Regions from separate parts of the Homo sapiens genome. Here region 2 is linked to region 1. The links are contacts of gene promoters, found by promoter capture Hi-C in blood cells and fetal thymus (Javierre and others, 2016). All regions are on one chromosome and are shown on one strand. The core of a region is centred on a gene start or on the middle of the fragment in contact, and the rest is flanking DNA. Distances in the headings are between cores, read along the strand shown. Region 1 holds the start of LBP (lipopolysaccharide binding protein). Region 2 overlaps RPRD1B (regulation of nuclear pre-mRNA domain containing 1B).

What was found. The method cuts DNA at HindIII sites, captures the fragments that hold promoters and counts their contacts. A CHiCAGO score of 5 or more calls a contact.
Region 2: a fragment that was not itself captured here is called in contact with the fragment with the promoter of LBP in region 1 in 1 of 17 cell types (monocytes); the score reaches 6.1 in monocytes.

What each region holds. Positions count from the first base shown.
Region 1 is chr20:38,343,604-38,348,998 of GRCh38, forward strand. LBP (lipopolysaccharide binding protein) reads left to right here and starts at 2,879. Exons shown (of 15, transcript NM_004139.5): 1 at 2,879-3,037. The coding sequence starts at 2,914. RefSeq lists an enhancer at 155-932. The HindIII fragment of the contact is 10,913 bases long and covers 1-5,395 here.
Region 2 is chr20:38,071,819-38,077,213 of GRCh38, forward strand. All of the region lies in intron 6 of RPRD1B (regulation of nuclear pre-mRNA domain containing 1B), which reads left to right. Among named protein-coding and RNA genes, the nearest start is that of RPRD1B, 41 kb to the left of the region's middle. RefSeq lists an enhancer at 1,547-1,656. The HindIII fragment of the contact is 3,231 bases long and covers 1,795-5,025 here.

The DNA of each region.
Region 1 (5,395 bases), core at 1,629-4,128:
TGCTGGCTCCAGATGATGTCAACTATCTGTTAGGGAACTCCTCTCCCTCTTGGCGCCATTCGTGGCCACTTATCATGTCAGAGGGACAGTTTTATGATCGCCTGTCCATCATTTGATGCACTGCCATTTCTGGGGGCCCTCTCCTGCACAAGAACACAATAAACAGCCTTGTTAAAAGAGTCCCTATTTCACTGCAATAAGACTGAGTGGTGGCCAGAGTGGTAGCAGCTGTTGCTTTTGTGGAATTGGATGGACAGCCTGGTAGGAGAAAGGCCCAGGGGTTCTGACCAGCAGTGGGGTCGTGCTGCTCCCTGAGGCCTCTGCTGGGTCCTGGGCCATCAGCAGGGACCTTAGCCAGCAGTGGGCACCTGCAGGGGTGGAGGCCAGGCCTGGGCCATGTGGCAGCTCTAAGGTCCAAAGATTGCTGCTGTGGGAAATTCCCACCCCTGCAAATGACTCCCAGCCAGGGACATCCTTAAACTGCTGCCAGAGGAAGAGTGACATCTATGTCCCCATAAGATCCTTATGCTCCAGAATGTCCTCCCCCACTCTCCTCCCCTCCTGGGCAGGCTGAGGTCCAGGAAGCAAAGGCCCCTAGGCACACTGGGGATGCACCTGTGAGCCCTTTCCTGCTCCAAAGCCTCCCAAAGGCTGGCTCCTTACCCTGAGGCCTCTGCTCAGCTTGTTGCCTCCCAAGAGAACCCTGCCCTGACCAGAGTTTTGGAATGGCATCCTGCAGACCTGGACTTAAATTCCTGCTGGGTGACTGCAGCCTACATCACTTCACCCTGCCAAACCTCAGTTTCTTCATCTCAAGACAAGACTAAAATATCCACCTGGGGTTGCTGATGCAAGGATGAGAGGAGACGTGCAGCTTAACCAGCACAGCGCCTGCACATAGTAGGTGCTCAATAAATATCAGTTTCTTTCCAATTTCTGCTGGGTGCTGCAAGGATCTCAGGAAATGGAAGACTCAGCCGTGCCTGCAAGGAGCCATCAGACTGGTGGTGTGGGGACTGAGGGGAGGGACGGATGAGGATCCCAACAAACCTCAGCCCCAGTGACAGGAGCAACACGGTACAGAGGAGCAGAGAGGCCTGGACTGTGGGGTTCCCTGTGCTTAACGTGGGACATTCTGATCTTAACCTCAGTGCCTGCCAGTGCTGTTTGTGACCTATTGGGAGTCACCCTGTTAATCCCACCACATTCAGTTGGTTGAGGCCATCATGAAAACCTGCCCAATTTCAAGGGAAGGGGGCAGAAACATTACCTTTTGATGGAAGGAATATCAAAGAATTCGTGGGCATATTTTTAAAGGACCACAATTATCAAAAAGCAGAGTGGTTAATGCTGTGGTGGGGAAAGCGCAAAGGGTTCTGGGACCTCAGAGGGGACCCTTTCTAGAATCCAGAGAAGCATGGGAGTGGTCAGGGAAGGCTTCCTGGGGGTGAGGGCAAAGCAGAACTCACAAATGTAAGCAGGGCTGGGGCAAAACTCTAAAAATTAAACACAGTCTGTACTATAAATTTTGTTTTCCAGAATGAAATTTTACTATCTTTACTTACTGCGAATATATGCCCGGGACCATACCCCCAAGAAAATAAAAATTTTAGAGGCTGGGCATGGTGGCCCAAGTCTATAATCCCAGTATTTTGGAAGGCCAAGCGGGAGGCTTACTTGAGCTCAGGAGTTCGACACCAGCCTGGGCAACATAGCAAGACCTCGTCCCTACTAAAATACAAAAAATTAGCTGGACATGGTGGCTCACACCTGTAGTCCCAGCTACTTAGGGGGCTGTGGTGGGAGGATCACTTGAGCCCAGGAAGTTGAGGTTGCAGCGAGCGATGTTCATGCCACTGGACTCCTGCTTGAGCAACAGAGTAGACTTTGTCTCAAAAAATGAAAAAAGAAAAAAAAATTGTACGTATCAACAAGCAAAAACTTTTTTAACACTTATAATTCTACCCCCACAACCAGAGACAATGCCTCATGACTCCTTGCTAAATATTTTCCAGATTGTTGAACATAGAAGCCTATTTTGAACCCCCCAAAATAGAACCTTACTCTATGGTGCCATCGGAAACGGATGCCTCATGACATCCCTTTCCTTGCCAAGAAATACCTTTATTTCTGCAGCCTCACTTTAAGGGGCATGTCATAATTCATTTAACCAATGCCCTTCTGGTGGATACATGAGGTTGGGTCTCACTTCTCCTGTCCTGTTTCCCACAGCATAGCAGTGGTATCTTGGAGCAGTGATTTACTGGCACACTGACTCAATTATGTATTTAAGGGCAAGTCCCTGAAATTGAATTCCTGGGTCACAGGGCATGCAACTGTTTAAACATTTGCCAATTGCCTTCCAGAAAATTTCACCACCAGCAAGGTTTGAGAAACACTGTTTTCCCATTGGGGGAAACATTTATTTTTTAAATAAACGAGCCAATATATTTTAAAAAAGAGAGTTTGGTTGGTGCCAGATGTAGCTTCACTCTCAACCCTGCCCTCTGCTGGGGGTGAGATCTCAAGGGAGCTATGTGGCTTTTTTGAACCTCAGTTTCCTCATCTGCTAAACCAGGCCTTCCTAGCCGAGCTCTTAAGAGACTGGCTGAGATGAGGCAAGATGAACAGTGATGAATATGGGGTCTTTCTGTGGGGAGGGTGGACAGGGATGATCATAGGAGTCAGGCTTCCTCATCCACTGATCTGGGCAGTGAAAACTGGCTTCTAAGTATGACCTTATGACTTCAGTGATGTCGCAAGCAGGTTCCAGTCCCTGTGCCTCCCCTTCCCGCTCCCAGGAACCCATCCAGCCTCAGGAACTGCCCCCAGCCATCGAGCCTTGGCTACTTAAGGGACCTGGGCCCAATCCACAGCTGGGACAGTCCTGGCCCACTGCACTGGGAATCTAGGATGGGGGCCTTGGCCAGAGCCCTGCCGTCCATACTGCTGGCATTGCTGCTTACGTCCACCCCAGAGGCTCTGGGTGCCAACCCCGGCTTGGTCGCCAGGATCACCGACAAGGGACTGCAGTATGGTAAGAAGCCACATCTGCTGGCTGGACTTGGCAAACCCACGCTCCAGGCTGCTCTGGGTACAGTGGGGACAGGGAGTGGGGACACAGACCGGACCCTCTCCCTGGGGCAGTGCCACCTTCTGGGTCAGGTGGCTCTGGCTCCTATTCTGGCCTTACTGCCCACCAGCTGAGTGCCCTGGGCATGTTATTTGTGGTAGTGAGGTCCTCCACCAGCCAACAGAACACAGCTTTGCGTGCAAGTAGTTGATTTGGGAAATGATTCCAGGAAACACTGTAGGGAATCGGTACTGAGATGAGGAAGGGAGGGCAGCCAGGAGAGAGTGTGCAATTAAACCAGCCACCACCTCTGATGATGGGAACCACTCAGCTGGGAAAATTCTGCGTAAAGTTTGGAAACACATGCCTCTGAACTGGAAGTCAGAATTGTGGTCACCTCTAGAGGCAGGCAGAGACCCTGAAGGGCATGAGGGAGGTCTGCCGGGGTGCTGGAAGTTGCCATATCTTGATCCAGGTGGTGATCACATTCCTGTATAAACATTAAAAATTATTTAGCAATACCTTTAAAATTTGTGCCCGTTAGGTACTTTATGTATATTATTCCTCAATTTTAAAGAATGGGCAGGCCAGGCACAGTGGCTCACGCCTGTAATCCCAGCACTTTGGGAGGCCGAGGTGGGTGGATAGCTTCAGGCCAGGAGTTCGAGGCAAGCCTGGCCAACATGGTGAAGCCTCGCCTCTCCTAAAAATACAAAAATTAGCCAGTCTTGGTGGCAGCCAACTGTAATCCCAGCTACTTGGGAGGCTGAGGCAGGAGAATCGCTTGAACCCGGGAGGCAGAGGTTGCAGTGAGCCGAGATCATGCTGCTGCATTGCAGCCTGGGCAACAGAGGGAGACTGTCTCAAAAAAATAAATAAAAATAAAACAAAGAATGAGCAAAAGTAGGAGTATTTTTTTTTAAATACTGAAACAAAGCCTCCCGACTATCCAGGTGGCATGGGAACTGGGATATTTATACACCACAGTGATTGATTGAGGGCTTCTGGGCCGGGGGTTTGTCAACTCCCCAGCACTTCTGTCCTGTTGCATGTACCTGCTTTCTGCAGTTCCAGGACAAAAAGCCTCGGGACATACAGGCTCAGGGAGGCAGACATTGGCAGCTGGGAGTCAACTGTCACTCACTGGAAAGACTCAAGGATATGGACAGGCACTGACCACATGTCTTCTCACATCCCTAGAGCCTCAATTGCCTTACCTATTAAATGAGATAACAACATTCCCTTAGATAGGGTTGTTGGGAGCCCAGACTGGCTCGAGACAGGCAGAGGGAAATCAGGGAAGGATTCCAGGATATAGTAAAATGGAAAAGACAGTGGGAATTACCCAGGGACAAGGGGTAGCGTTCCAGGCGGAAGGACCCCAACATGTGCGTTTGCTAGAGGGAGAAGAGCAAATTGGAAAGAGGTGAAAGGGGAGGCTGCTGGTCATCTGTGTACCCATGTCTGCCTTGGGGACAGAAACCTGGGCCCCTCAGATCTCGGAACAGTGGGACCTGGTAACTGCTACTTGCATTGAAACTGTAAATCAGGGAAGTTTCTCTTTTGTTCCTTTGCACTGTGCACACACACCATGTTTATGTAACCAGTCCTCTGAGGTTGGACATTTTGGTCCTTTCCATATTTTTTTTTTTTTTGAAACGGAGTCTCACTCTGTTGCCAGGCTGGAGTGCAATGGCACAATCTCAGCTCACTGCAACCTCCGACTCCCTGGTTCAAGTGATTCTCCTGCCTCAGCCTCCCGAGTAGCTGGGATTACAGGCACATGCTACCACGCCCAGCTAATTTTTGTATTTTTAGTAGAGACAGGATTTCACTATGTTGGCCAGGATGGTCTCGATGATCCACCCGCCTCGGCCTCCCAAAGTGCTGGGATTACAGGCGTGAGCCACTGCGCCCGACCCCTTTCCATATTTTTAATAATATAAACCCTATTTGCTGTTCCAGGCATTTACTGAGTGCCTGCTGTGTGTCAGGCACCAAGCTAGGAGTGCTTGTTATCCTCACAGCCCCCTTCTTGCTTTGCAGTTTCAATGGCATGCCAATGAGGAAAGTTTAGTTTAGTTTAGTTTAGTTTAGTTTAGTTTAGTTTAGTTTTGTTTTGTTTTGTTTTGTTTGAGACAGAGTCTCACTCTGTCGCCCAGGCTAGAGTGCGGTAGTGCGATCTCGGCTCACTGCAATCTCTGCCTCCCGGGTTCAAGTGATTCTCCTGCCTCAGCCTCCTGAGTAGCTGAGACTACAGGTGCCTGCCACCATGCCCGGCTAATTTTTGTATTTTTTAGCAGAGATGAAGTTTCACCATAT
Region 2 (5,395 bases), core at 2,160-4,659, 270 kb before region 1:
TTATCTTTGGAGAAATGTGTGTTCAATTCCTTTGCCCATTTTCAAATTGGGTTATTTGCTTTTTTTGAGTTGTAAAAGTTCTTTATATATTGTGGATAATATACCTTTATCACATAAATGATTTGCAACTATTTTCTCCTATAAGTTGTCTTTTCACTTTCTAGGTAATATCCTTTGATGTGCAAAAGTTTTTTATTTTTATGAGTTCCAATTTATCTATTTTTGTGGTTGTTGCTCATGCTTTTGGTGTCACATGTAATAATCTGTTGCCAATCCCAGGTCATGACAATTTTTTTCTGTGTTTTCTTCTAGAAGTTTTATAATTTTATGTCTTAAATTTACGTTCTTAATCTGTTTTGAGTTAGTTTTTGTATGTGGTGTGATGTAGGGGGGGACCAACTTCATTCTTTTGCCTGTAGATATCCATTTGTCCCAGCACCATTTGTTGAAGAGACTACTCTTTTCCTCCACCTGAATGCCCAGCACCCTTGTCAAAAATCAATTGGCCACAGATGTATTGGTTTATTTCTGGATTCTCAATTCTATTCCATTAATGTATATGTCTATCCTATGCTCATACCACACTATCTCCATCACTGTAGTTTTGTAGTAAGTTTTAAAATCAGTAAGTATGAGTCCTCAGAGTTCTTTTTCAGTATTGTTTTGGCTATTTAGGATCGCTTGCAATTCCCTATGAATTTAACAATCACCTTTTCCATTTCTGCAAAAAAGGTAATTGAAGTTTTACTAGGGAATGCATTGAGTCTGCGGGTCACTTTGGGGAGTATTGCGATTTTAGCAGTCTTAAGTGTTTCAGCTCATGAACAGGGGATGTCTTCACATTTATTTAAGTCTTCAATTTCTGCTGCAGAATTTTAAAAAGCACTCTAGGAGAGTGTCATTTACTGATGCATTTGATATTATAAAGGCCCTGTCTAGGTTTTGGGACCACAGATGGAGGGCAGTGGTATCACCTTTCAATAATGTTAACCCCCACCTCTAGAAGATATGAGTATTTTGTGTATGGACTCAATGGAGTCACCAGGGCACAGTCACAACAGCAGCTTTACAAAGTAAAGTGACACATAGAGGCCTGGATATCTAAGTAAAGTGATTAGCAGGATTATTGAGCTGGACAGAACCTTAGAGATCATATAATCAGACTTCTGAATTGGTGAAGAAACCTAGAGAGAGAGGTAGCTGCAGACCAGCATAGAGTCCAAGGCAGACATCTGGTAACTTCATCAGATTTGTACTTTTGTTTTGATTTCAGAATTTTGATTCTGCAACATCAACAGCAGGAAGACATCTTACACAGAATAGTAGCCAAAGTTTAATCATTTAAACAGTTCCCAAGAATCTTGTTGTAGAGAAATGACATTTTATGTGGGGTCATAAAATGATTGCATGAAAGCATTCTAAGTGTGAAAGAACCTACTCTGCCACCAAGGTTCTAAGTACCTGCCTCGCTGTACCCCTGCTCACGCTCTTGCTCTGATAGGAGGGGAGAAATTGGCTCATGAACTTAAAGCTGCTGGTGTTTCTCCTCGCTTGGCACCTCCCCCTTGGCTGTAATGACTACTCAGGAGTAGAGCCTCTGACTTCAGACAACACAGCTGGGAAGGGGGAAATGGTTCAGAATCCAACATTGCCTTATGACTCTTCATATTTCTGTTTGATTGTGGTTATAACAACTTGAGAAATTCTTTGGCTACAGTTGAAGGGGTGCTCAACCAAAATGATGGCAGATTGTTGTTTTTGGCAGCACCTCCCTGCAGGGTGCAGATGGTTAGAAGCTTTTGTTTCAATATTAGGCCAGGCAGTAGGGGGAGATAGAGAGCTCCTTTTTTGTCAACTTTGGAGTAAATTCGTCTTTCCTATGATGATCAAAGCCAGTATCTCAGTGTCCTATCATGGTAAGGACAGATGGGAGCCGGTGATCTAATTGTCATTTTAGGTAAGAGCCCTTGGGTTTATGTGAACACTTCAGGGTCACAGAGGAAGCCAGTGAGGACCAGTACCTGGATCTTCTGACTCCTAACTACAGTGATCATCCACTGTGTTCTCCTGGGAGCTGAGAGGCCCTGCCTAGTGCCGGCCCCCTCCTCTCAGTCCTCTAAACTCACTGCCCTTCTGTAGTATTCAAGTCTGTCCTCCCTAGGCTGGCAGCTCTGTCAGCACCCAGGTTGTTAGAATAGTTGTTAAAACAGGTCATTCTGTTGCCAAGTAATTACGGGGCCTTGCACTCAGTACCTTCCCACGAAGCAGGCCGTAGTGTGCTTACTGCTCTCCCTTGCCTTTCCATCCCCTACTTTGATGTGGGAGTTTTCTTTCTTTTTACTTTTCTTTTATTTTCTTTTTTTCCGCCAGTTTCCCTCCAATATGTGAGGACTTTTATTGAGTTAATGTGTGGGCTTCTGTGAGTGATTTGGAGTTCCTTGGATTTCTTTTATTCATTTTAGTCTACTGACCCTACTGCTTAGGCCCAGTTTATAGCTGGAGCTTTTATCTGTTGGGTGTGTGTGTGTTTCTTTATTACAATGTGAAACCTATGATACTTATTTTTCACTCCAGGAAAATAATGCCACATTATAATGTACTTCACATACTTAGTGACTTAAGAACATGATTTGCCAACATTTGAGACTTTGAGACTTTACATTGAAAAAGTGACACGGTTTTAAGGCTTTCCCAGCAAGAATTCATGCCTTTAGCCATAGTACCGTTTTCATATTTGTAGCCCAACTTCTGTGGGCAGTGTAACCCCTGCTTGATGGAACAGTGCCACTGAGTTTCAGCTGGTATATGTAGCACTAATTTTTCATATTTATGGAATGCATATAATATGAAGTTAAAACAGCACCTGGGCCTCTTATTACTCCTGCCTGCCAGAACATTCACTCTGGTTCAACTAGTACTCAGGGTTTTTGTTTTTGTTTTTGTTTTCTTTTTTTGATTGTAAAAGTAATACATCAGAGGAAACTTAGCAAATAAGTATAAAGAATAAAATTAGTCTCATTACCCAGAGATAACTATTTTTAATTTTTGCGTATTTCCTTTTCCTCTTAGTTTAAAATTAAACTGAATGATAACTTGCAGATAATTTTCTGTCATGCTTTTTTCTTAACATGATTATTTTTCCTTGTAAATAAAAACTTTATAAACATTGTAAATGATTGCTTGAATACCTGTGGTTGGATAGTCAATGATTATTTGTATTGAGCACTTGTATGTTTCTGTCTCTGTCTCTTAGCTTTAGGCTAACTTTCAGTGTTTGGATTATTTTCTTCCTGTAGATTTCTAGAAGTGGTTCTATGTATATGTGCAGATGTCTGCTTGTCTTTTAAGTATACTGAAGGTCATATACATTTCACGGTCTCTGCCACCAGAATGCGTTCCTGCTGTAGGAGTTCTTGTCTTTTCCAAAGCATCTTAACCAGTCTAGGACTTCATTGAGCTTATTTTGTATAAACCTCTATACAAGTTAAGGATTAGTCTTTTGTTTTATGAAGGAGTAAACACAGAATAGTTTAATTAGACTAATGGAGCTCTCTTCTGGCTTTTAAATGATCTTGTTTACATTTGAGATAGCTGTGTGAAAATAGCACATACTTCTACTATAACATTGACTTGAGTGAGCATAATATTGAGAGCAAGGTTCAGATTGCAGAAATTTGAGCTGCCTGTTTGACCTAGTGGGTGCAAGTTATTTTGAGCAAGGTTCTATTTTAGTCTTTATGAATGTTCTTACTACTGTTAAGGTGGGCCTTCTACTCCCACTTAAAATTGGGATTCTGAAGAAAGTTAAAATTGGATTGTGGCATACTTTGCAATCTTGGAAGTTAATCTCTGACTTTGTTTTTCTGTCTCTAAAATGTTAGACTTGAAATAGATCAGAAAGAGTCATTTTCTGAGATCAGGGCAAAGTATTCTGGTTATAATCAGGAGTCAAGTGAAACCTTTGCAGATGAAAGCCATGAGCCCCAAAGATATGGCATGCTTTATGTGAAGAGGATGGTACTAGCCAGCTGTCATGATGGCTGTGCAAGCCTCCTTATTTGTTTTTTTCCTTATTGAGGTCCTTTATCTTTAAACATCTGTAGGAAGAAGTATGATTAGCTCTCTTTGCCTAATTCTGCCAGTAGCTACTTTGAGAATTTCAAGCACAATAACTTCGCAAACTTCAACTCAACAAAAATTTACCAGCAGCCTTTCTGAGAATTATTGGGGTTTGGACAGTAATTATGAATGGACAAATCCTACTTTTACTCATGATGTCCTTTTCCCAGTCCTTTCCTTTTGCTCACAGTGTGTCTGTTCTGTGGGGCATAGACTCAGTAGGAATTGTTCCCTTTAAGATACCATTTACCCCAATTATGGTGCAGTGATGATGATCTGCTTTGCATATTTCAGGTTCTTTTTGGCTTTTTCCATTGAAGCCAGTGGTCCTCCCAGCGTTTTATCTTTGATGTGACTTTTCATTGATAAAGTAACACTTTACCTTCCTGGGACAACAGATTCCAACACCTTAACTAATCTGAAGTTGTTAGCTTCCACCTTCCCTCGTCACATGGGACCTTTAGGGCCAATTTATTTTCCTGCCCACATGAGAAGTCTCCAGTAAACTAGCTGAAGGTCCTCAGCATGTAGCATGCTTTGTCTCTCCAGTGTTTAAAAGAAATCATCACATTCACATGAGCATACCCTCTGCACCACCCTCCCTTTATAACTACCACCATATCCACTTCCCTTGCTGCCTCTGCTTCTCAGCCTGTTGCAGCTTGGCATGCATGTCTACATTCCACCCAAGTGGCTGTCTTCAGAATTTCCCCCCTTCCCCCCACCCCTGCCCCCAGTGGTCTAATCTCAAAACCCAAAAGGTACTTCTTAGTCTCTGCCTCTTGGCTCCCTTTCTCTTTTTGGCCCTGTCTGCAGCATTTAATATTACTGTATTACAATGTATTTGCATTTCTGGTTTCTGTGTACCACCCTCTGCTGGTTCTTCTGCTTTTTCATCCTTCAATAAGCTTTTCTCCATGCCTTTATTGTAAATGTTGCCATTCCTTTAGCCTTTTCTCATTCTGGACCTTTTTTTTTTTTTTTTTTTTTTTTTTTTTTGAGATGGAGTCTCGCTGTTGCCCAGGCTGTAGTGCAGTGGTGCGATCTGGACTCACTGCAACCTCCCACCTCCTGACTTCAAGCAATTCTTCTGCCTCAGCCTCCTGAGTAGTTGGGATTACAGGCACCCACCACCACACCCAGCTAATTTTTGTATTTTTAGTAGAGACGGGGTTTCACCATGTTGACCAGGCGAGTCTTGAACTCATGACCTCAGGAGATCCACCCGCCTCAGCCTCCCAAAGCGCTGGGATTACAGACATGAGCCACTGCACCA